6 separate regions of the Homo sapiens genome follow, and all the other regions are linked to region 5. Evidence: promoter capture Hi-C in 16 types of primary human blood cells and fetal thymus (Javierre and others, 2016). All regions are on one chromosome and are shown on one strand. The core of a region is centred on a gene start or on the middle of the fragment in contact, and the rest is flanking DNA. Distances in the headings are between cores, read along the strand shown. Region 1 holds the start of EIF3K (eukaryotic translation initiation factor 3 subunit K). Region 2 overlaps MED29 (mediator complex subunit 29). Region 3 holds the start of EID2B (EP300 interacting inhibitor of differentiation 2B). Region 4 overlaps DLL3 (delta like canonical Notch ligand 3). Region 5 holds the start of PAK4 (p21 (RAC1) activated kinase 4). Region 6 overlaps PLEKHG2 (pleckstrin homology and RhoGEF domain containing G2).

What was found. Contacts are between HindIII fragments. The CHiCAGO score rates a contact against its expected background, and 5 or more counts as called.
Region 1: a contact is called between the fragment with the promoter of EIF3K here and the fragment with the promoter of PAK4 in region 5, in 3 of 17 cell types (naive CD8 T cells, naive CD4 T cells and erythroblasts). The highest score is 6.4, in naive CD8 T cells.
Region 2: a fragment that was not itself captured here is called in contact with the fragment with the promoter of PAK4 in region 5 in 13 of 17 cell types (total CD8 T cells, naive B cells, fetal thymus and 10 more); the score reaches 9.6 in total CD8 T cells.
Region 3: the fragment with the promoter of EID2B here is called in contact with the fragment with the promoter of PAK4 in region 5 in 12 of 17 cell types (naive B cells, total B cells, monocytes and 9 more); the score reaches 15.4 in naive B cells.
Region 4: a fragment that was not itself captured here is called in contact with the fragment with the promoter of PAK4 in region 5 in 4 of 17 cell types (monocytes, naive B cells, fetal thymus and 1 more); the score reaches 6.2 in monocytes.
Region 6: a contact is called between a fragment that was not itself captured here and the fragment with the promoter of PAK4 in region 5, in 1 of 17 cell types (fetal thymus). The highest score is 6.5, in fetal thymus.

Annotation. Positions count from the first base shown.
Region 1 is chr19:38,617,938-38,621,463 of GRCh38, forward strand. EIF3K (eukaryotic translation initiation factor 3 subunit K) reads left to right here and starts at 1,251. Exons shown (of 8, transcript NM_013234.4): 1 at 1,251-1,390; 2 at 2,400-2,498. The coding sequence starts at 1,332. It overlaps MAP4K1 (mitogen-activated protein kinase kinase kinase kinase 1), which reads right to left and starts at 16. Exons shown (of 31, transcript NM_001042600.3): 1 at 1-16. RefSeq lists an enhancer at 540-589. The HindIII fragment of the contact is 6,969 bases long and covers 1,019-3,526 here.
Region 2 is chr19:39,395,499-39,398,725 of GRCh38, forward strand. It overlaps MED29 (mediator complex subunit 29), which reads left to right. Exons shown (of 4, transcript NM_017592.4): 4 at 1,959-3,227. The coding sequence ends at 2,201. Among named protein-coding and RNA genes, the nearest start is that of MED29, 5.7 kb to the left of the region's middle. RefSeq lists an enhancer at 2,823-2,872. The HindIII fragment of the contact is 3,484 bases long and covers 1-3,168 here.
Region 3 is chr19:39,531,251-39,534,722 of GRCh38, forward strand. It overlaps EID2B (EP300 interacting inhibitor of differentiation 2B), which reads right to left and starts at 1,602. Exons shown (of 1, transcript NM_152361.3): 1 at 1-1,602. The coding sequence starts at 1,552. The coding sequence ends at 1,067. It also overlaps the pseudogene CRIPTOP7. The HindIII fragment of the contact is 7,702 bases long and covers 280-3,472 here.
Region 4 is chr19:39,505,685-39,509,071 of GRCh38, forward strand. DLL3 (delta like canonical Notch ligand 3) reads left to right here. Exons shown (of 9, transcript NM_203486.3): 7 at 1,355-1,934; 8 at 2,146-2,230; 9 at 2,568-2,785. The coding sequence ends at 2,573. Among named protein-coding and RNA genes, the nearest start is that of SELENOV, 7.8 kb to the right of the region's middle. RefSeq lists silencers at 1,457-1,556, 1,737-1,886. The HindIII fragment of the contact is 8,029 bases long and covers 1-3,387 here.
Region 5 is chr19:39,124,282-39,127,308 of GRCh38, forward strand. It overlaps PAK4 (p21 (RAC1) activated kinase 4), which reads left to right and starts at 1,505. Exons shown (of 10, transcript NM_005884.5): 1 at 1,505-1,638. The HindIII fragment of the contact is 5,933 bases long and covers 1-2,599 here.
Region 6 is chr19:39,420,393-39,423,610 of GRCh38, forward strand. PLEKHG2 (pleckstrin homology and RhoGEF domain containing G2) reads left to right here. Exons shown (of 19, transcript NM_022835.3): 12 at 234-267; 13 at 359-460; 14 at 557-604; 15 at 683-721; 16 at 891-907; 17 at 1,723-1,896; 18 at 2,340-3,218. Among named protein-coding and RNA genes, the nearest start is that of PLEKHG2, 9.3 kb to the left of the region's middle. The HindIII fragment of the contact is 7,366 bases long and covers 1-3,218 here.

The DNA of each region.
Region 1 (3,526 bases), core at 1-2,500, 510 kb before region 5:
GCCTCAGGGCTCAACTTCTGGCACCTCCCTCCGTCCCCAGAAGCCCTGCACCCGCCTTGCCTCCGCGGGCTGTGGCCTCCCCCCTCCTCACTCTCGCTTCCTGCCCCAGCTGCACTGCACGACTGTGCAACGGGCTCCACCCCCCCGTCCCCTGGGCTCTGAGAGCCTCTGAGGGGCAGCTTGTCTTGGGACCCAAGGGACCACCCTCAACCTCCAAGGCCCAGGGCTGGATGTAAATGTGATGCAAATGATCTTAATCGTAACTGGGTTGGAGGGGGGTGCCTTAGAACCCCCGCCCCCGTCTCCTAGGTAGTGTCTAAACCTCTGCTGGGTGCTTGAAGGTTTGGCCACAACCCGAAGGCGGCAGGTCTGCAAAGGGATGGCTATGCAGTGTACATGCCTGTTCACCTGTCACATACATGCACTTGGGTTACCTCCTCTGCACTGCGCAGGCGTGTAGACGTGCATCTGCCTGGATACCTGTGTGCACAGTACACACGTGGATGTACCCAGGACATATACCTCCACATGCATGGCACATAACTGCATTTTGTAGGCCTGCAGTGTACAAAACCTATACATAATATATAATTCATGGCAGTACAAATGGGACGCTCGCCCTCAGCTCCAAGACCGGAACCTAATGGAGACGGGGCGCGATCCGGCGAAGTCCAGGAGCCCTCACCCCAGCCCCTGCCCGGCAGAGCACAGTAGCTTTGTGGGACCCTCCTCCTGGAGCTGGGGACCAAGGGCTGAGACTTGAAACTGGAGAGCTCAGGATCCTGCACCAGGCGCCCAGGCCTGTGGCAAGAGGGACCTCAGAACACCTCCCTCGGAACTTGGCCATGGCCTAAACGTAAGGCTGCTGCGTGCATTCCCGCAGAGCTCCGTGGCCTCATGGCCGCGCGCAATACAACGCGCGCGCACGCCGCCAGAGCTCCGGGTGCTTCCCGGTGAGTTCGCGCGCGCACGCTCCCGCGCTACCGGCACTGGAACTGGGTCTGTGAGGCCCGGGAAAAGCTTAGCCCCGCCCCCTCGCCACGAGAGGCGCCTGCGCACTGGGATCCAGTAAGATTTTTCTCACGCTGTCTGTCCAGCTTGAGTGGCGCGAATGCGCACGCGCCAATTGCGCCTGCGAGGAAGAAGTCACGTGGCAGCCGGAAAGCGTGGCGGCTGCTGCTAGAGCCTTTCCCTTTACCGCACCCAAGGAGCTGGAGCGACAACAACGACGTCGTTTCCGTTTCCACCACCTCTTCCTGTTCCCGTCCTTGAGGACGCCGTGCCGGGTCAGTGTTAGCCTCCAGCCCTGGTTGTGGAAGGCGACAGAAGTCATGGCGATGTTTGAGCAGATGAGAGCCAACGTGGGCAAGTTGCTCAAGGGTATCGACAGGTCTGAGCCCGGTTGGAGGAAGCGCTCTGGCCAAGCGGGGCGGAGGAGAGGGTTTTCCGGAGACAGCAAGGGGTGTTCAGGGTCCTGGGCTTGCCGCGGGGTGGGGTTTCTCTATCCTCCTGGAGGAGGAGATGCTTAAAGAAACGGCACTGAGCTGGGGGTAGTGGCTCACGCCTGTGATCCTAGCACTTTGGGAGGCCGAGGTAGGTGGGTCGCCTGAGCCCAGGAGTTAGAGACCAGCCTGGGCAACAGCCAAACCCCGTCTCTAAAAGAAAGAAACAAAAGCACTGCAAAGGCCTAGAAGCGAGAGAATCTTGGTACCACTCAGTCTCTTCGTAAATTGCCTTAAGGTTTCCTTCTCTGCTCCGCCTCCTTTGAGTGCCTCTTAATCTCTCCCTTCTCTGCTCTATAAGTCATTCATTCTCCACACGTTTACTGAAATAAACTGTCAGTGCTAGGCAATGCTGGGAACCACAGGCGAATCAGACAGCGGCAGATCATGCCTTCACGGTCTGAGTTCCCTTTCCATAAGGGAGACAAACCTGACAGCAGACAGCGATAGCCGGGAGAGATTAGAACTGAAATGGGGGAAGCAAAGGCCAGAGTGTTCAGGTGGACATGGAGGAAGTAGGCAGCGAGGTAGGCAGGAGAGGATGGGGCTGGATCAGGGTGGAGGCCTGAACAGGGGAGGAAGGGGTGAGTAGCAGAGACATTCAGGAGGCCAGGTGTACAAGCTGCAGTGACTGACTGGCTCAGAGGTTGAGGAGGCATCCTAGGGAAGAGCCAGGGCTCCAGTGGAGTTTAGAGCTTAGGCGAGAGGTCTGGGATAAGAATAAGTTTTACTAGAGATTATACTGGACATAATTCACTACCTGGATAGAGCAAGTGGCCAGTGCCAGATTTAGAGGGGAAGGGCGGGAGGAGCAGGTTACAGTGGCCCCTTGCTCCATAAGGTGGCTGGCCTCAGCTTCTGTCTCCTCTGTGCTCACCTATCTTGATTCTCCTTTAGGTACAATCCTGAGAACCTGGCCACCCTGGAGCGCTATGTAGAGACGCAGGCCAAGGAAAATGCCTATGATCTGGAAGCCAACCTGGCTGTCCTGAAGCTGTAAGTGTCTAGCTCTCTGTCTACACTCCCATTGCAGCAACTAGCAGGGTGCCACTCCCAGTACAGGGCAAGGGGGTGGCTGGTAGTATCCTGAACAATGCAGCATCTCTTGGTGTGCAAGACTAGGAAGCCAAGGAAGTTGGGACAGGAGGAGGGATGGTTTTTGAAAAATCAATTGCCGGGCGCGGTGACTCACGCCTGTTATCCCAGCACTTTGGGAGGATGAGGCAGGCGGATCACCTGAGGTAGGGAGTTTGAGACCAGCCTGGCCAACACGGAGAAACCCCATCTTTACTAAAAAATACCAAATTAGCCAGGCGTGGTGCCACATGCCTGTAATCCCAGCTACTCGGGAGGCTGAGGCAGGAGAATTGCTTGAACCCAGGAGGCGGAGATTGTGGTGAACCAAGATCGCGCCATTGCACTCCAGCCTGGGCAACAAGACCGAAACTCCGTCTCAAAAATAATAATAAAAAATCAATTAGGGTGGCCGCAGGGGCTCATGCCTGTAATCCCAGCACTTTGGGAGGCTGAGGCGAGAGACTCACTTGAGCCAAAGAGTTCGAGACCATCCATGGCAACATAGCGAGACCCAACCCTACGAAAAAATTTAAAAATTAATGTAGCGGTGTGTGGCTGTAGTTCCAGCTACTTGAGAGGCTGAGGTGGAAGGATCGCTTAAGCCTGGAAGATTAAGGTGCAGTGAGCCATGATAGTGCCACTGCACTCCAGCCTGGGGGACAGAGTGAGACCCCTCTTTTTAAAAAAAAAAAAAAAAAAAAGAATTACCAATTTGGGTGACATGGCACAACCCTGTCTCTACAAAAATTAGCTGGGCCCAGTGGCGCATGGCTGTAGTCCCAGCTCCTTGGGAGGCTGAGGCAGGAGAATTTTTTGAGCCTGGGAGGCAGAGGTTGCAGTGAGCCAAGATCATACCACTGCACTCCAGCTTGGGCGACAGAGTGAGACCCTGTCTCAAAAATAAATAAAGGTTAATTACAGAACACATGTACAGGCTAATACATTAA
Region 2 (3,227 bases), core at 177-2,676, 270 kb after region 5:
GAGGAAATGGGGAAGACTGGGGGAACTTGAGAGGCTTCGTGTGCAGGGCTTTGTATATGGGCCACAGGACCGGTGTGCTGGAAGGAGATAAAGTTTCTAGGATGAGGCCCAGGACTCTGGTTTATAATGGAGGACTGTCACTGGGCCCGGTGATTCATGCCTGTAATCCCAGCACTTTGGGAGGCCGAGGCAGGCGGATCACAAGGTCAGGAGATCGAGACCATCCTGGCTAACACGATGAAACCCCGTCTCTACTAAAAATACAAAAATTAGCCGGGCGTGGTGGCAGGCGCCTGCAGTCCCAGCTACTAGGGAGGCTGAGGCAGGAGAATGGCATGAACCCGGGAGGCAGAGCTTGCAGTGAGCCGAGATCGCACCACTGCACTCCAGCCTGGGTGACAGAGCGAGACTCCGTCTCAAAAAAAAAAAAGGAGGACTGTCCCCGAAACAGGGACCTAGGAGAAGCAGTTTTGGGGAGTACAAGGGCCCTACAAATGTCAGGGGGAGGCCAGCGACAGTGTGGGCGCCATTAGTGCAGAGGTGGAAACTGAGTGGTGTGCGTGGGTGTGACAGCCCTGGGAGGGCTTGAACAGTGAGAGAAGACAGGGCCTAGGAATGGCTGCACTTACGTCTTAGGTAGTGTAAGAAGTACCTAGAGCTGGTCAGGCGCGGTGGCTTGTGCCTGTAACTCCAGCATTTTGGGAGCCTGAGGCGGGCAGATCACAAGGTCAGGAGTTCAAGACCAGCCTGGCCAACATGGCAAAACCCTGTCTCTACTAAAAATACAAAAATTAGCCAGGCATGGTGGCGTGCACCTGAAATCCCAGCTACTTGGATGAGACAAGAGAATCTCTTGAACCCGGGAGGTGGAGGTTGCAGTGAACCAAGATGGCGCCACTGCACTCCAGCCTGGGTAACAGAGCGAGACTGTCTCCAAAAAAAAAGGGGCCGGGCACAAGTGGCTCATGCCTGTAATCCCAACACTTTGGGATGCCAAGGCGGGTAGATCACGAGGTTAGGAGTTCGAGACCAGCCTGGCCAATATGGTGAAATCCCGTCTCTACTAAAAATACAAAAATTAGCCAGGCTTGGTGGCATGCACCTGAAGTGCCAGCTCCTCTGGAGGCTGAGGCAGAAGAATCACTTGAACCCAGGAGGCAGAGGTTGCAGTGAGCCAAGATCGTGCTACTGCACTCCAGCCTGGGCAACAGAGCGAGATTCCACCTCAAAAGAAAAAAAAAAAAGCCTGGGCGCGGTGGCTCATGCCTGTAATTCCAGCACTTTGGGAGGCTGAGGCGGGTCGGTCACCTGAGGTCATGAGTTTGAGACCAGCATGGCCAATGTGGTGAAACCTTGTCTCTACTAAAAATAAAAAAAAAATTAGCCGGGTGTGGTGGCGGGTGCCTGTAATCCCAGCTACTCGGGAGGCTGAGGCAGGAGAATCACTTGAACCTGGGAGGCGGAGGTTGCAGTGAGCTGAGATCGTGCCATTGCACTCCAGCCTGGGCAACAAAACCGAAACTCCATCTCAAAAAAAAAAAAGAAAGTAGTACCTAGAGCAGCCAGAGAAGCAGGCAGAAAACCAGGGGTGAGATGCCACTGCCAACACCAGGCCTGGAGCCAGGGCAGTAACAATGATAGTAGCTAACAGTTCTTGGCACTTTAAACAGTGTGCCAGGACCCGTGCCTGTGTCTCATACACCTGCTCTCACTGTTCTCACCTTATGAGGTAGGAAGAGGTGGTTATTAAACCCGTTTTCCAAAGGAGGAAACTGAGGCTCAGAGAAGAGTAGCCGCCATGCCCCCAGGTTCCCCAGCAAATGACTGGCAGGGCCAACCTCTGACTCTAAGACCTGGGAAATCCAGAGGCCAAGCCGACAACCCCCAGCTGGCCCTTGGGGTGGGGTAGAATGACCTCGGGTGGAGCTGATGCTGTCCCCTTGCCTGCCTGTCCACAGCGCCTGGCGCATGAGTGCCTGTCACAGAGTTGTGACAGTGCCAAGCACTCTCCAACGTTGGTGCCCACAGCCACCAAGCCCGACGCAGTGCAGCCTGACAGCCTCCCCTACCCACAGTACCTGGCGGTCATCAAAGCCCAGATTTCCTGTGCCAAGGACATTCACACCGCCCTGCTGGACTGTGCCAACAAGGTCACGGGCAAGACACCCGCACCACCTGCTGGCCCTGGGGGCACTCTGTGAAGTGGGGGACAGGGAGTGGGGCAGGCAGTGGTTGGTGGGTGGTGTGCAAAGGGAATGAAGAGCGTCCTGGGCCTAAACACAGCAGCCTCCTCTCTTCCTGCCTGAGCACCGCAGCGGGAGCCAGCAGGGGGCAGCAGAGGCCAACAGGGAGCTCGCAGGCCGGGCCCCTGCGTCCCTGCCCCTTCTTCCTGCTCCCCCTCCTAGCCTAGGGTAGACTTTGAACTGTGTGTGTTGATGACTTCTCTGTTCCACAGGCCCTCCCCCATTCTTGCCTGGGTGTGGAGCCCTGGCTGTCCCCTCTCCCTCAGTCCTTCCTGACTGTCTCCAGCTGGGAGGTGGTCTCTGTGTGCCACTCCTCTGTGTCTCTATTACAGTTGTGTCTCTCTCATCCTGTCTCTTTTTCCCTTGTTTCTCTGTTCCTGTTAATGTGTTTCTCCCCATGGTCCTATTTCTCTCACTCTGACCTCTCTCTCTTAGTCCCCTTTAGCTGTCTTCTATCCCCAGCTCCTAACTGGGACTCTGTGTCTATGCAGGGGGCCAGCACCCCTGGGTTATCTGGGGCTAAGGGAAGGGACTTCATTTCCAGGGGCCACAGCCAAGCCCAGAGTCCCCCAGCGGCTCGCATGTCAGCCCAGACCCCAGGGTCCTTGGCCTAGGAGAGGAGCAGTGGAGGGGCCCAGGCTCTGAGCTCCACAGGTCTGAGCAGGGAGCAACTCAGGCCCCCACCCAAGCCTGCGTCAGCGGAACTTGAGTGAGGGGCGTTGTGCAATTTGTGGCAAGGCTGGCCCAGCTGGATGCCTGGGTCCCAGTATTTTTAGCCCCAAAGGAGAAGTGAAAAGGCCCCAGCCGGGGTGAATCATCAGTCCTGGGGAAGAACCCAGGCGCCTGAGCCCCAGCTCCGGGAAGCAGGCACTGGGGAGGGGGCTTCAAGGAGGGAGTGCCCCCTCAGACTCCCTGCTTCCCTGGAAGCTTCAGGAAGCTCAGCCTCAGCCTTCAGGCCTGAGCAAGTGCAGGGCGGAGCTACCA
Region 3 (3,472 bases), core at 352-2,851, 410 kb after region 5:
GCAACCTCCGCCTCCCAGGTTCAAGTGATTCTCCTGCCTCAGCCTCCCGAGTAGCTGGGACTACAAGCGCGTGCCACCACACCCAGTTAATTTTTTATTTTTCGTAGAGATGGGGTTTCACCATGTTGGCCAGGGTGGTCTTGAATTCCTGACCTCAGGTGATCCACCCGCCGTGGCCTCCCAAAGTGCTGGGATTACAGGCGTAAGCCAGTGCGCCCGGCCGATACTTTTTTTTGTTGAGTCTTGTGAATAGAATACATATTCTAGAATAAAATAAAAAGCTTAAAATTAACAAAAAACAAGTTTATTCCACACCTACCCAATTTCACATAGACTTGAAAACACTGATCATATAATACGTGGTTTTTTCTATTGAATATTTACTGTTCATCTAAAGTACCTCAGAAAACACAAATATGAATCTTACACTAGGATTTGTTGACATGACCACAAATTGTGAAATTTCAAAGTCCTCTCAATAGCCTTCCAATCCTAGTAACTCAGGTACACCTGGATTCCTGACAACTCTATTTCTTTGTTTTCTTTCATCACTTAGGTTCATTTCTATGGGTTCTGTTATTGGCATTTTTTTTTTCTCATATCTTTGCAAAACCATCCTTTATGGTGAAAGTCATGAAGGATTCTTCACAAATGCAGGAAAATGCATTGCTAACAAAGTGCTAAGTCAGAAGTGTCTTGGGACCTGTTTGAAAACAAGATTCGGCCGGGCGCGGTGGCTCACGCCTGTAAAGTAATCCCAGCACTTTGGGAGGCCGAAGCGGGAGGATCGCTCGGGTCCAAGCGTTCGGGACCAGCCTAGGGATGCGAGACTCCCTTCTCTATTTAAATAATACTAAAAAAGAAGAAAGAAAACAAGATTCAACAGTCTTGTCTGTTTCCATTTCGGAGTGTGCTTCCTCCTTCAATTGCACATTGCCGTATTCCCTTCCAGTTTGCATTCCCCCTAATGACTGAGTTAACTAAACTGGCACAGCCTGCCTGTTCTTTTGATCCCAAAAGGGTCACTTGGCTATTCCTTGCCACCAATGTCATCATCACAGCCGACTCAGTCGGCCAGAGGACTGAGGGCCTCGGAGGCAGTCAGCGCTACCGTAAACGCGACAGCAGCGAAGTCCATCTGCGGGGGATCCGCGTCAAAGGCTGCTTCCCTCGCCTTGCAGCCTTCCACAAACAGCCTGCGGCGTTCCTCGAAATCCCGTAGTAATCTGACCGGAATCATGGAGCTACCATCCAGATACTCGCGGAACAACAGCTGCCGGTTAATTTCTAAGAAAGCGAGCTGCTGATGGGGGTCTGGCGCGGAGGCCAGGCCCGGGACGCTGCTGGGGATGGGCCCGGGCACAGGGCCCGGCATCCGCGCCATGGACCGCGCAGCTTCGGCCACTGGGCCTTCCCGAGCCTCCTGCACCCGAACCCCGCCGCCGACTGCCCCCCGCAGTACGTCGCTGACGCCACTCGCGGTGCCCACCTGTGGGACACTGCTATCTCCGGGGAGCTCGGACATCTCCAACAGCCCAGTCGGCTCCGCCATAGTCCCAGCGTTTCTACGGAGACTGGAATAACGGCACTGCACTGCTGTATGCGAGACCTGCGCATGCGCGAGTCTCAGTGAGCGCGTAAACGCTGTGCGTGCCAGAGTGTGCGCATGCGTAAGCACGGTGGCCAATCCTCTAGCGTTCCCTAGCGGTCCTGAGTAGCCATTACGTCTGTAGCCGCCTCTGGTCCTCTGAGCGCCTGAGGACCTGCGGACTGCGCGGTATCTTAAATTACAACCACTTCAGTATTAATGTAAAGTTCCTTATACGGTCATTTTCCAGCTCCTGTCTTTTTTTTTTTTTTTTCAGACTGGGTCTCGCCCTGTCGCCTAGGCTGGAGTGCAGTGGTGCGATCTCGGTTACTGCTGCTTTGACCTCCCAGCCTCAAGCCATCCTCCTGCCTCAGCCTCTGGAGTAACTGGAACTACAGGTGCACACAACCACACCCAGCTGATTTTTTATTTTTTGTAGAAATTGGGTCTCACTATGTTGCCCAGGCTGGTCTCGAACTCCTGGACTCAAGTGATCATCCTGCCTTGGCCTCCCAAAGTGCTGGGATTACCGGCCTGAGCCACTCGGCCTGGCCTGTAAGTAATATTTTGACACTGGAAGTTTGGGGGTTTCCCAAAACCACCTTTAGGTTTGATAATTCCCAGAGCTCATTGAAATCTGTTATATTCACAGTCATGCTTATTACAGGCAAAGGACACAGATTAGAAGAGATGTATAAGGCACAATCTGGGATGGGGAGGGTTCCAAATGTGAAGTTCCTGTGTTCCTAGGGATGTGTTACCCTTTGTCGTCCATGTGTGGCAATAAGTGTGGGGGTAGTGCTAACATAGGACTCTCACCCAGGCTTTGGTGTCCAGAGTTTTTACTGGGGTTTTACTACCTAGGCATGCTTGATTAAACCATCGTCCATTTTGTTGAAGTCAATCTCCAGCCTCCTACCTGATATCACATGGCTCCAAGCCCCAACTCTCTAATGATATGGTTAGCCTTTCTGTGTGGCTAGCTCTGATCCTGATGATAACCCAAAACGTGAAAGTCTATGTTCCATTTAAAATCAGTCAGCTGTGGCTGGGTGTAGTGGCTCATGCCTGTAATCCCAGCAAGTTGGGAGGCAAAGGTGGGAGGATCGCTTGAGCCCATGAGTTTGAGACCAGCCTGGGCAACATAGTGAGACCCCTGTCCCTACAGAAAAAAAAAATTAGGCAGGCATGGTGGCATGTGCACCTGTAGTCTCAGCTATTCAGGAGGCTGAGGTGGGAGGATGACTTGAGCTTGGTAGGTGGACTGTGCAGTGAGCTATGATTGCACCACTGCACTCCAGCCCTGTATGACAGAGCAAGACCCTGTCTCGAAAAAAAATCCTTTGAATTTAGCTGGAATCCAAATATGAGAGTTGCTGGCAATTGAACTTCAGGAGGATCCATCTAAAAATTCTGACCTATCACAGGTCGTGTCTGGGAGCTGATTGGGTTGGAAATCATTCTGACTCACGTGTACCTTACTTTGTTTCTACAGTTCTCTTGGAGAGATGGAGTTCTCCTACATGTGACATATATGCTTCAAAAAGCACATTTGTGATATTCCACAGAAGACAAAAGAAAGGACTTCTCTGGAAGGTAACTTCAAGGGGACAACAACAGAGCTATGGACTGCAGGAAGATGGCCTGCTTCTCTTCCAGTGTGATTTGGATCATGGCCATTTTGAAGCCTTTGAACTGGGATTAGTTGCTGGGCTGGGTCATCAGGAACTTGCGTGTCCATCTCAGGGAGACCTGGCCTTCAGAAATGACAGCATTCGGCCCCAGGAGGAGCCTGCAATTCGGCCTCAGTCTTCCCAGCGTGTGCTGCCCATGGGGATACAGGACAGTAAGGAGCTAAGCAGAACCTGCTGCCTGAATGGGGGA
Region 4 (3,387 bases), core at 666-3,165, 380 kb after region 5:
GGAATGAAACAGACAAAGTCCCTGGCCCTGCCTGATAGAGCTGAGGTGCCTGGTGTGCTGAGGATAAGCAGGGAAGCCAGTGTGGTTATACTGAGATGAGGTCAGGGAGGTGACTGAGGCACATCTTGTGGGACCCCCTGGGTCACAAGAAGGGGAACTTTCACTTTTCCCCTGAGTGAGATGGAGCCACAGGAAGGTTCTGAGGAGAGAAGAGACCTGATATCGGTGCTAAAAGATTAAATGCGGCCCGGCACGGCGACTCACGCCTGTAATTCCAGCACTTTGGGAGGCCGAGGCGGGCAGATCACCTGAGCTCAGGAGTTGGAGACCAGCCCGGGCCACATGGTGAAACCCCGTCTCTACTAAAAATACAAAAAATTAGCCGGGCGTGATGGCAGGTGCTTGTAATCCCAGCTACTCGGGAGGCTAAGGCGGAAGAATCACTTGAACCCGGGAGGCGGAGGTTGCAGTGAGCCGAGATCATGCCACTGCGCTCCCGCCTGGGCGACAGAGTGACACTCTGTCTCAAAAAAAAAAAAAAAAAAAAAAAAAAAAAAGATTAAGTAAGATCATGAATGTAGGCTGAAGCAGAGAATTGCTTGAACTCGGGAGGCGGAGGTTGCAGTGAGCCGAGATCGCGCCACTGCACTCCAGCCTGGACGACAGAGCGAGACTCCGTTTCGAAAAAAAAAAAAAAAAAGATCATGAATGTAAAGGGCTGGCTGTGTATCTTCTTGCGAGTGAATACAATAATTCTCTCCCAAACACTGAGTGTTCATTCTGGGGTGTGTGGTACTAGGGACTCAGCACCGACCAGGACATCTCTGGGCCGCACCCTCCTGGGGGAACCAGCCCAGAGGGGAAGACAGACACCCTCAGACAGAGCCCAGGGTGGGTGGTCAGGGCTGTGATGTAGGAGCACAGGGCAGTGATCAGGGCTGGGATGGAGGAAGGAGCATCGGAGTAGAAACCTGAGGGGTGGGCTAGGGAAGAGAAAAGGTGGGAAAAAATGTGAGAAAAGGAGGAAGGGAAGAGAGGAGGGGTATTCTAGGCAGAGGAAGGCCAGAGGGTTCAAACACGTAGTTCTGGGAGCTGTCTACTATTGAAGTATGATCGAAGCCGAAGGAAAAAGAGACAAGGGCACCGAGAGCCAAAGAGGTGGAGCTGAATTAATTATTCCAAAACTTCATTAGGAAGAAAAGCGAGCTGGCTTTCCTGGCACACTCCAAGACGCTGGCCCTTAAGTTAGAGAGAAAAAGGGGACCCCGTGCAGCGATGACAGAGCTGGGAAACAGCGCGGGCAGGTGGGTCCCCGGCTCCCGGACTGCGCCCTCTGATGCTCCCTTCCCCACAGGCGGACTCTGCCTGGACCTGGGCCACGCCCTGCGCTGCCGCTGCCGCGCCGGCTTCGCGGGTCCTCGCTGCGAGCACGACCTGGACGACTGCGCGGGCCGCGCCTGCGCTAACGGCGGCACGTGTGTGGAGGGCGGCGGCGCGCACCGCTGCTCCTGCGCGCTGGGCTTCGGCGGCCGCGACTGCCGCGAGCGCGCGGACCCGTGCGCCGCGCGCCCCTGTGCTCACGGCGGCCGCTGCTACGCCCACTTCTCCGGCCTCGTCTGCGCTTGCGCTCCCGGCTACATGGGAGCGCGGTGTGAGTTCCCAGTGCACCCCGACGGCGCAAGCGCCTTGCCCGCGGCCCCGCCGGGCCTCAGGCCCGGGGACCCTCAGCGCTACCTTTTGCCTCCGGCTCTGGGACTGCTCGTGGCCGCGGGCGTGGCCGGCGCTGCGCTCTTGCTGGTCCACGTGCGCCGCCGTGGCCACTCCCAGGATGCTGGGTCTCGCTTGCTGGCTGGGACCCCGGAGCCGTCAGTCCACGCACTCCCGGATGCACTCAACAACCTAAGGACGCAGGAGGGTTCCGGGGATGGTCCGAGGTGAGGGGCTGCGCCACAGACGAACGCCTTGCGCTGCTGGCTGCTTTTACCCATCTCCGTGGTGCAGTTGGCCCGATTCCTTGATGCATTTCCCTGGTCGGTCTCTCTTACCCCGGTAGCTGGTTTTGGGTTCCCCTTTGTGATGGGTAGGGGAAAACAAGATCTGAGAATTTAAAGAGTCTGAGTTTTTCTTCTTTCTCTCCTCCCACAGCTCGTCCGTAGATTGGAATCGCCCTGAAGATGTAGACCCTCAAGGGATTTATGTCATATCTGCTCCTTCCATCTACGCTCGGGAGGTAGCGACGCCCCTTTTCCCCCCGCTACACACTGGGCGCGCTGGGCAGAGGCAGCACCTGCTTTTTCCCTACCCTTCCTCGATTCTGTCCGTGAAATGAATTGGGTAGAGTCTCTGGAAGGTTTTAAGCCCATTTTCAGTTCTAACTTACTTTCATCCTATTTTGCATCCCTCTTATCGTTTTGAGCTACCTGCCATCTTCTCTTTGAAAAACCTATGGGCTTGAGGAGGTCACGATGCCGACTCCGCCAGAGCTTTTCCACTGATTGTACTCAGCGGGGAGGCAGGGGAGGCAGAGGGGCAGCCTCTCTAATGCTTCCTACTCATTTTGTTTCTAGGCCTGACGCGTCTCCTCCATCCGCACCTGGAGTCAGAGCGTGGATTTTTGTATTTGCTCGGTGGTGCCCAGTCTCTGCCCCAGAGGCTTTGGAGTTCAATCTTGAAGGGGTGTCTGGGGGAACTTTACTGTTGCAAGTTGTAAATAATGGTTATTTATATCCTATTTTTTCTCACCCCATCTCTCTAGAAACACCTATAAAGGCTATTATTGTGATCAGTTTTGACTAACGAGGCTGAATGCTTTGTATTTGATGTTGGGGCTGAGGGGAAGAGATTTTGTCTCCTGAGGAGAATAGTAGACAGGACTCTTTATGTTGTAGGGGTCGGAAACGACTCAAACTGCTTTAAATATAAAAGAATTTATGGCTGGGTGCAGTGGCTCACGGCTGTAATCCCACTGAACCACTGAGTGAGATCAGTGCTGAAGCAGGAGGATTGCTTGAGGCTGGGAGTTGGAGAGCAGCTGGGCAACACAGCGAGACCCCTATACGAAAAATTAAAACAAAATTAGCCAGGCCTGGTGGCGCACCTGTAGTTCTACATACTTGTGAGGCTGAGGCCGGGAGGATCGCCTCAGCTCAGGAGTTTGAGGCTGCAGTGAGCTATGATCACACCACTGCACTAAAGCCTGGGCAATACAGCAAGATCCTGTCTCTTTAAAAAAAAATGTATTAGTGGCCGGGCGTGGTGGCTCACCCCTGTAATCCCAGCACTTTGGGAGGCTGAGGTGGGTGGATCACCTGAGGTCGGGAGTTGGAGACTAGCCTGGCCAGCATGGCAGAACCTCATCTCTACTAAAAAATACAAAAATTAGCTGGG
Region 5 (3,027 bases), core at 255-2,754:
TCAAACAGCCCTTCCACCAATGTTTACTGAGCATCTACATGCCAACAGTGCTGGGGCACTGGGAATGCAGCAGTGAACAAAGACAGAAATCCATGTTGTCATGGGGCTGACATTCCAGCAGAGGAGACAACCAACAAGCAATAACTACAATTAGGAGTGAGAAATAAGAACAAAGCAGACAGAGTTTGGTAGTATGTGAGAGGGATGTTTGCTGCTTTCCTTAGGGTGAGCGAGGGAATTAGTTCACAGAGAAAGTGACATCTGTGTAAAGCCCTGAAAAAAGGGAGGGAGAGATAAGGATACCTGGGGGAAGAGTATGTTCCAGGCAGAGGAACAACCAGTGCAAAGACTGTGAGGTGAGAGCGCACCTGACAAGAGTTCAGGAACAGCATGAAGGCTGGAGTCCAGTGAATAAGATCCAGGAGGAGAGATGTCTGGCCGGGCGCAGTGGCTCACGCCTGCAATCCCAGCACTTTGGGAGGCCGAGGCAGGAGTATAGTTTGAGCCCAGGAGTTCGAGACCAGCCTGGCCAACACAACAAAACTCTCTCTTTAAAAATAAAAGAAAAAGGCCAGCTTGGTGGCTCACACGTGTAATCCCAGCACTCTGGGAGGCCGAGGCGGATAGATCACCTGAGGTCAGGAGTTCGACCTGGCCAACATGGTGAAACGCTGTCTCTACTAAAAATACAAAAAATTAGCTGGGTGTGGTGGTGGACGCCTGTAATTCCAGCTACTCAGGAGGCTGAGGCAGGAGAATCTCTTGAACCCGGGAGGCGGAGGTTGCAGTGAGCTGAGATCGCGCCATTGCACTCCAGCCTGGGCAACAAGAGCGAAACTCTATCTCAAGACAAATAAATAAGTAAAAATAAAATTTAAAAAAATTTTTAAAGAAGATGTCTGCTGTTTGTTTTCAATATTTTGACCAATTACTTCGTAAAAACTTATTTAAAAATTGAAGAGCAAACAGTCTCAGGTTCCCGGGCTCAGACAGACCAGCGTTCAAAACTCATTACCTTCTTTCTATGATGCTAAGCCAGCTATTTCACCCTCTGAACCTCTGTTTCTTTATCTGTAAAATGGGTATTAATGATATTATACCACAGGGTTGTATATGCAGCGAGAAAATGCAAGTAAAACACTTATCCCGGTGCCTGCCTCCTAGTAAGTGCTTAAGAACTGTTTCTGCCCATTAACTCATTACTTTCTCCCAGCCCCTAACTCCTTCTGGGGGGGAAGTTAGAAAATCGGTATCACACGAAAACAGTCATTTCCCCTTTAAGGACCTCAGTGGGCCGGGAGCCAGCCTTCCCGCACCTTTTCCAAAATTTCCAATCCCCGCTTGGCATTTTCTGCCCGAAGGTCTCCGATTGGACGCTCTGTACCAATCGGAGGCTGGAGCGGGCCCTGAGAGGCGCCCGACTCCGCCCCCGCACTGGCCCTGCCCACTGCCCGGTCAGCCTCGTTGCTATGGGGACTGGTGGGCGGTGAGGGGGGAAAGCCCCGGATGTTCGTTGGGGATTCAACATGGCGGCGGGAGTGTCCGCGGTGGTGGCGGTGCAAGAGAGCTGAGGGAGGCGCGAGGGCGCGGAGTTCCAGGTCGAGCAGTTAGGCCGCGAGCGACTGCGGCGCCGAGCCGGTAGGATAAGGGGTCCGGCCAGGGGCTTGCGGTGGGCCGGGCGCTGGCGGCGGGACGGCGTTTCCGCGAGGAGGGGGGCGGGGCCGCCGGGGTCAAAGGTCACTGGTGGAGGGAAGGGTCGCGTCCGAGGGGTCGGGGGTTAACGCAGACTGGAGGGAGTTGTAGTGGAGGTCGGAGATCAAACCAGCGAAGGGGGCGTGGCGAAGGGGAGTGCAAAGTTTGAAATTCGAAGTGGGGGCGCGTTCGAGGGGTTCTGGGCGAGTCTCAAAAAAGGCAGGGTCAAAGTTAATAATTTGAGGGAAGGCTGCCCCCACGAGGGTCAGAGGTCACAGCCCCAGGGGCGCCAGGTTGGAGGTTTAAAGCTGCCCCTAGCGGAGCAGATGAATGAGTTTTAGGTTCGGGGGCGTCTTTTAGGGGTTCAAAGCTGGGGCGTGCCTAGAAGGTACAAAGGTGAGAATCTGACAGCGGGGCAGCTGTTTCCCAGAGTCAAAAATTAAAACCCAAGGAGGGCGTATTGCGGGGGACGGGGGGGGGGGGGGGGGCCGGGTCAGAGATGCTTCCTGGTGACAGGAGAAGGGGGAACCCTCCCACAAATAATAATGGCAAACACTCATGAAACACTATGGGCTAGACCCTCTTTTTAACGCTTTACTTGTATGAGCTTATTCAGTCCTCACTATAGTCTTAGGGGGTCTTAACCTGGTATTAAGAGGTTAAGTGATTTGCACAAGGTCACCCGATGCATAAGTTGTGCGCTGGGATTCTAACTCCGGAGTTCTGGCCCAGAGCCCTGCTCTGGCCGACCGCCTCTCAAATCATCATAATGTCGGTTAATGTTTAATGAGGGCTCACACTGTGCTCCACGCCCTGTGTGCCCGGTCGTATTTCACTCCTGCTGCAATCTTGTGAAGTGAGTGCTCAAGATGAACCTACTTTACAGACGGGAAAAATGAGGCTCAGAAGCTTCTGCTGAAGGCAGAGTTAGAATCGAAGCTGGGCCTGGGTGATTCCAGGGCTCCTGCCCCTGGTCGCCACATTGTCCGCTGCCAGCCATTAGGTCTCTCCTGGAAGCAGGGGGCTGGGCAGGGCTGGGCCACTCCCTGGGCGGATCGGATTGTCTGCTTGGTTTCCTTGGAAGGGTGTGATCTGGCAGGGAAGATTCCTGTGAGCCTATGGGAGTAGGGTGTTTGTAGGTGGTCTGGAGTCCGAGCAAGGGAGTCCGACGGGCTTCTGACTGGGGAGAGTGTCCCTGGGTGGTACCCTGGGCAGAGCGGGGTGTTCACTGTTCTTAAAACCCTAAGCTCTCACTGTGGTCCTTAGTCACTCCCACCTCACTTCTTATGGCTCTGCCCATTTCTCCCCAGCCCCTTTACTGTTCTCCAACTCCAG
Region 6 (3,218 bases), core at 281-2,780, 300 kb after region 5:
TGCACATATGAAATCCCAGCTACTCAGGAGGGTGAGGTGGGAAGATCGCTTGATCCCAGAAGTAGAGGCTGGAGTGAGCTATGATTGCACCACTGTACTCCAACCTGGCGTATAGAGCAAGATCTAAAAACAAAAACAGCACCCATTAATGGGCATGACTACGGTGCTTAAAGTATCCTCTCTGTGGTACTCCAAGATCGACCCACCTCAGCCCTCATCCTCCTGTCTTTCAGGCAAAGCAAGTTCTCCTTGAAAACAGCCTGCATTGTGAGTTGGGGCCTTGGGCTGGGAGGGTGTGGAAGTAGACGAATTACTTCCAAGAAAAAGTTGGCTTTTAGCCCCAAAACTCTCCCCACAGGTGCCCCCAAAAGTAAGCCTGTCCTAGAGCCCCTGACACCCCCACTTGGGTCTCCTCGACCTCGAGATGCTAGAAGTTTTACCCCTGGGCGAAGGAACACAGGTAAAGGCGGTGGATCCCTGAGTCCCAGCCCTCAGCCCCACTTCCCTAGGACCCGGGAGCTGGGCTCACACAGGGCTCTGGCCCTCCCTCCCACAGCTCCATCTCCTGGGCCCTCTGTGATTCGCCGAGGCCGCAGGCAGTCTGGTGAGCACTCACCCCTAAGGGTGATCCAGGCATCGGGGTGGGAGCTGGGCTCCTGACATCACTGTGTCCTCCCCGCAGAGCCGGTGAAGGACCCTTATGTCATGTTCCCACAGAACGGTCAGTGACTGCCCCGGTTCAGCCTGGTCCATCCCTGTCTGTCGCCCGGTGGGATGTCTGGGGCGGGTTGGGGAGGGGTGGTTGCTTCAGCTCATCAGTTATGGGGGAATCACTCTTTTTCCCTTACATCTCACTAATGCTTCTCTCTCTCTCATCTCTCCATCCTTAGCTAAGCCTGGATTCAAGGTAAGAGATATCTCGAGATAGGGTCTGGGCACCTTGACTTCTGGGTCTGATGGAGAAGGGAGCTTGAGTTCCAAAATCCTGGGTCTGAATGAGAAGGGGATTGGGGCCAGACAGAGTAACTCATGCCTGTAATCTCAGTATTTTGGGAGGTCAAGGCAGGAGGATTGCTCGAGCCCAGGAGTTTGAGACCAGTCTGGGCAACATGGCAAAACCCCATCTCTACAAAAAGTACAAAAAAATTAGCCAGGCACACTAGTGCATGCCCATAGTCCCAGCTACTCAGGAGACTGAGGTGGGAGGATTGCTTGAGCCTGGGAGGCAGAGGTTGCAAAATGAGCTGGGACACACCACTGCACTCCAGCATGGGTCACAGTGAGACCCTGTCTCAAATAAATAAATAAAAATTTTAAGAGAAAAATAAAAAAATTTAAAAATTGAGCCAGGTACGGTGGCTCACCTGTAATCCCAGCACTTTGGGAGGCCGAGGTAGGTGGATCATCTGAGATCAGGAATTTGAGACCAGGCTGGCCAACAAGGAGAAACCCCGACTCTACTAAAAATACAAAAATTAGCTGGACATTGTGGCAGGCGCCTGTAATCCCAGCTACTCAGGAGGCTGAGGCAGCAGAATCGCTTGAACCCGGGAGGCGGAGATTGCAGTGAGCAGAGATGGCGCCATTGCACTGCAGGCTGGGCGACAGAGCGAGACTCCATCTCAAAACAAACAAACGCAAAAGAAGGGGATTGGGACTTGGGGTCCTCTATGTGAGGGAGGAGTCTTGGCTCTTGCCTTCCATTGCTTTCCCTCCTCACAGCACGCTGGCAGCGAAGGGGAACTCTACCCTCCAGAATCTCAGCCACCAGTTTCAGGCTCTGCACCCCCTGAGGACCTGGAGGATGCTGGACCCCCAACACTGGACCCCTCTGGGACCTCAATCACTGAAGAAATCCTGGAACTGCTGAATCAGCGAGGCCTTCGAGATCCAGGGGTGAGCTGGCTGTCCCATCATGGTGTCCTTGGGCCTCTGGGTGTGGGCACACAGACCAGGGACCAGATAGGCCAGCCCATGCTGATACCTTTATTTTTTTTTTATTTGAGATGGAGTCTTGCTCTGTTGCCGAGGCTGGAGTGCAGTGGCGCCATCTCGGCTCACTGCAAGCTCTGCCTCCCAGGTTCAAGCGATTCTCCTGCCTCAGCCTCCTGAGTAGCTGGGACTACAGGCACCCGCCAACACACCCGGCTAATTTTTTTTTTTTTTTTGTATTTTTAGTAGAGACAGGGTTTCACTATGTTGGCCAGGCTGGTCTCGAACTCGTAACCTCAAGTGACCCGCCCACTTCAGCCTCCCAAAGTGCTGGGATTACAGGCGTGAGCCACCACACCCAGCTACCATGCTGATATGTTTGGCTTGTTCTCCTGTGCCCACTATAGCCGTCCACCCATGACATTCCCAAGTTCCCCGGAGACTCCCAGGTGCCTGGCGACAGCGAAACCCTCACATTCCAAGCCCTGCCCAGCCGGGACTCTTCAGAAGAGGAGGAGGAGGAAGAGGAAGGGCTGGAGATGGATGAACGGGGGCCTTCCCCACTCCACGTCCTGGAAGGGCTCGAAAGTTCCATTGCAGCTGAAATGCCCAGCATTCCCTGCCTTACCAAAATTCCTGACGTGCCCAACCTTCCTGAAATTCCCAGCCGCTGTGAAATTCCCGAAGGTTCTCGCCTTCCTAGTCTCTCTGACATTTCCGATGTTTTTGAGATGCCCTGCCTTCCAGCCATACCTAGTGTCCCCAACACCCCCAGTCTGTCTAGCACTCCCACCCTCTCCTGTGACTCCTGGCTCCAAGGGCCTCTGCAGGAACCAGCTGAGGCTCCAGCCACCAGGAGAGAACTGTTTTCTGGGAGCAATCCTGGGAAACTGGGAGAGCCGCCTTCAGGAGGCAAGGCAGGGCCAGAGGAGGATGAAGAAGGGGTATCATTCACAGACTTCCAGCCCCAGGATGTCACCCAACATCAGGGATTCCCAGATGAGCTGGCATTCCGCTCTTGCTCAGAAATCCGGAGCGCCTGGCAGGCATTGGAACAGGGACAGCTGGCCCGGCCAGGCTTCCCAGAGCCACTGCTGATCCTGGAGGATTCGGATCTGGGTGGAGACAGCGGGAGCGGGAAGGCAGGAGCCCCGAGTTCAGAAAGGACGGCGTCCCGAGTGCGAGAGCTGGCCCGGCTTTACAGCGAGCGGATCCAGCAGATGCAGCGGGCGGAGACTCGGGCATCAGCCAATGCCCCGCGCCGCCGGCCTCGGGTTCTGGCCCAA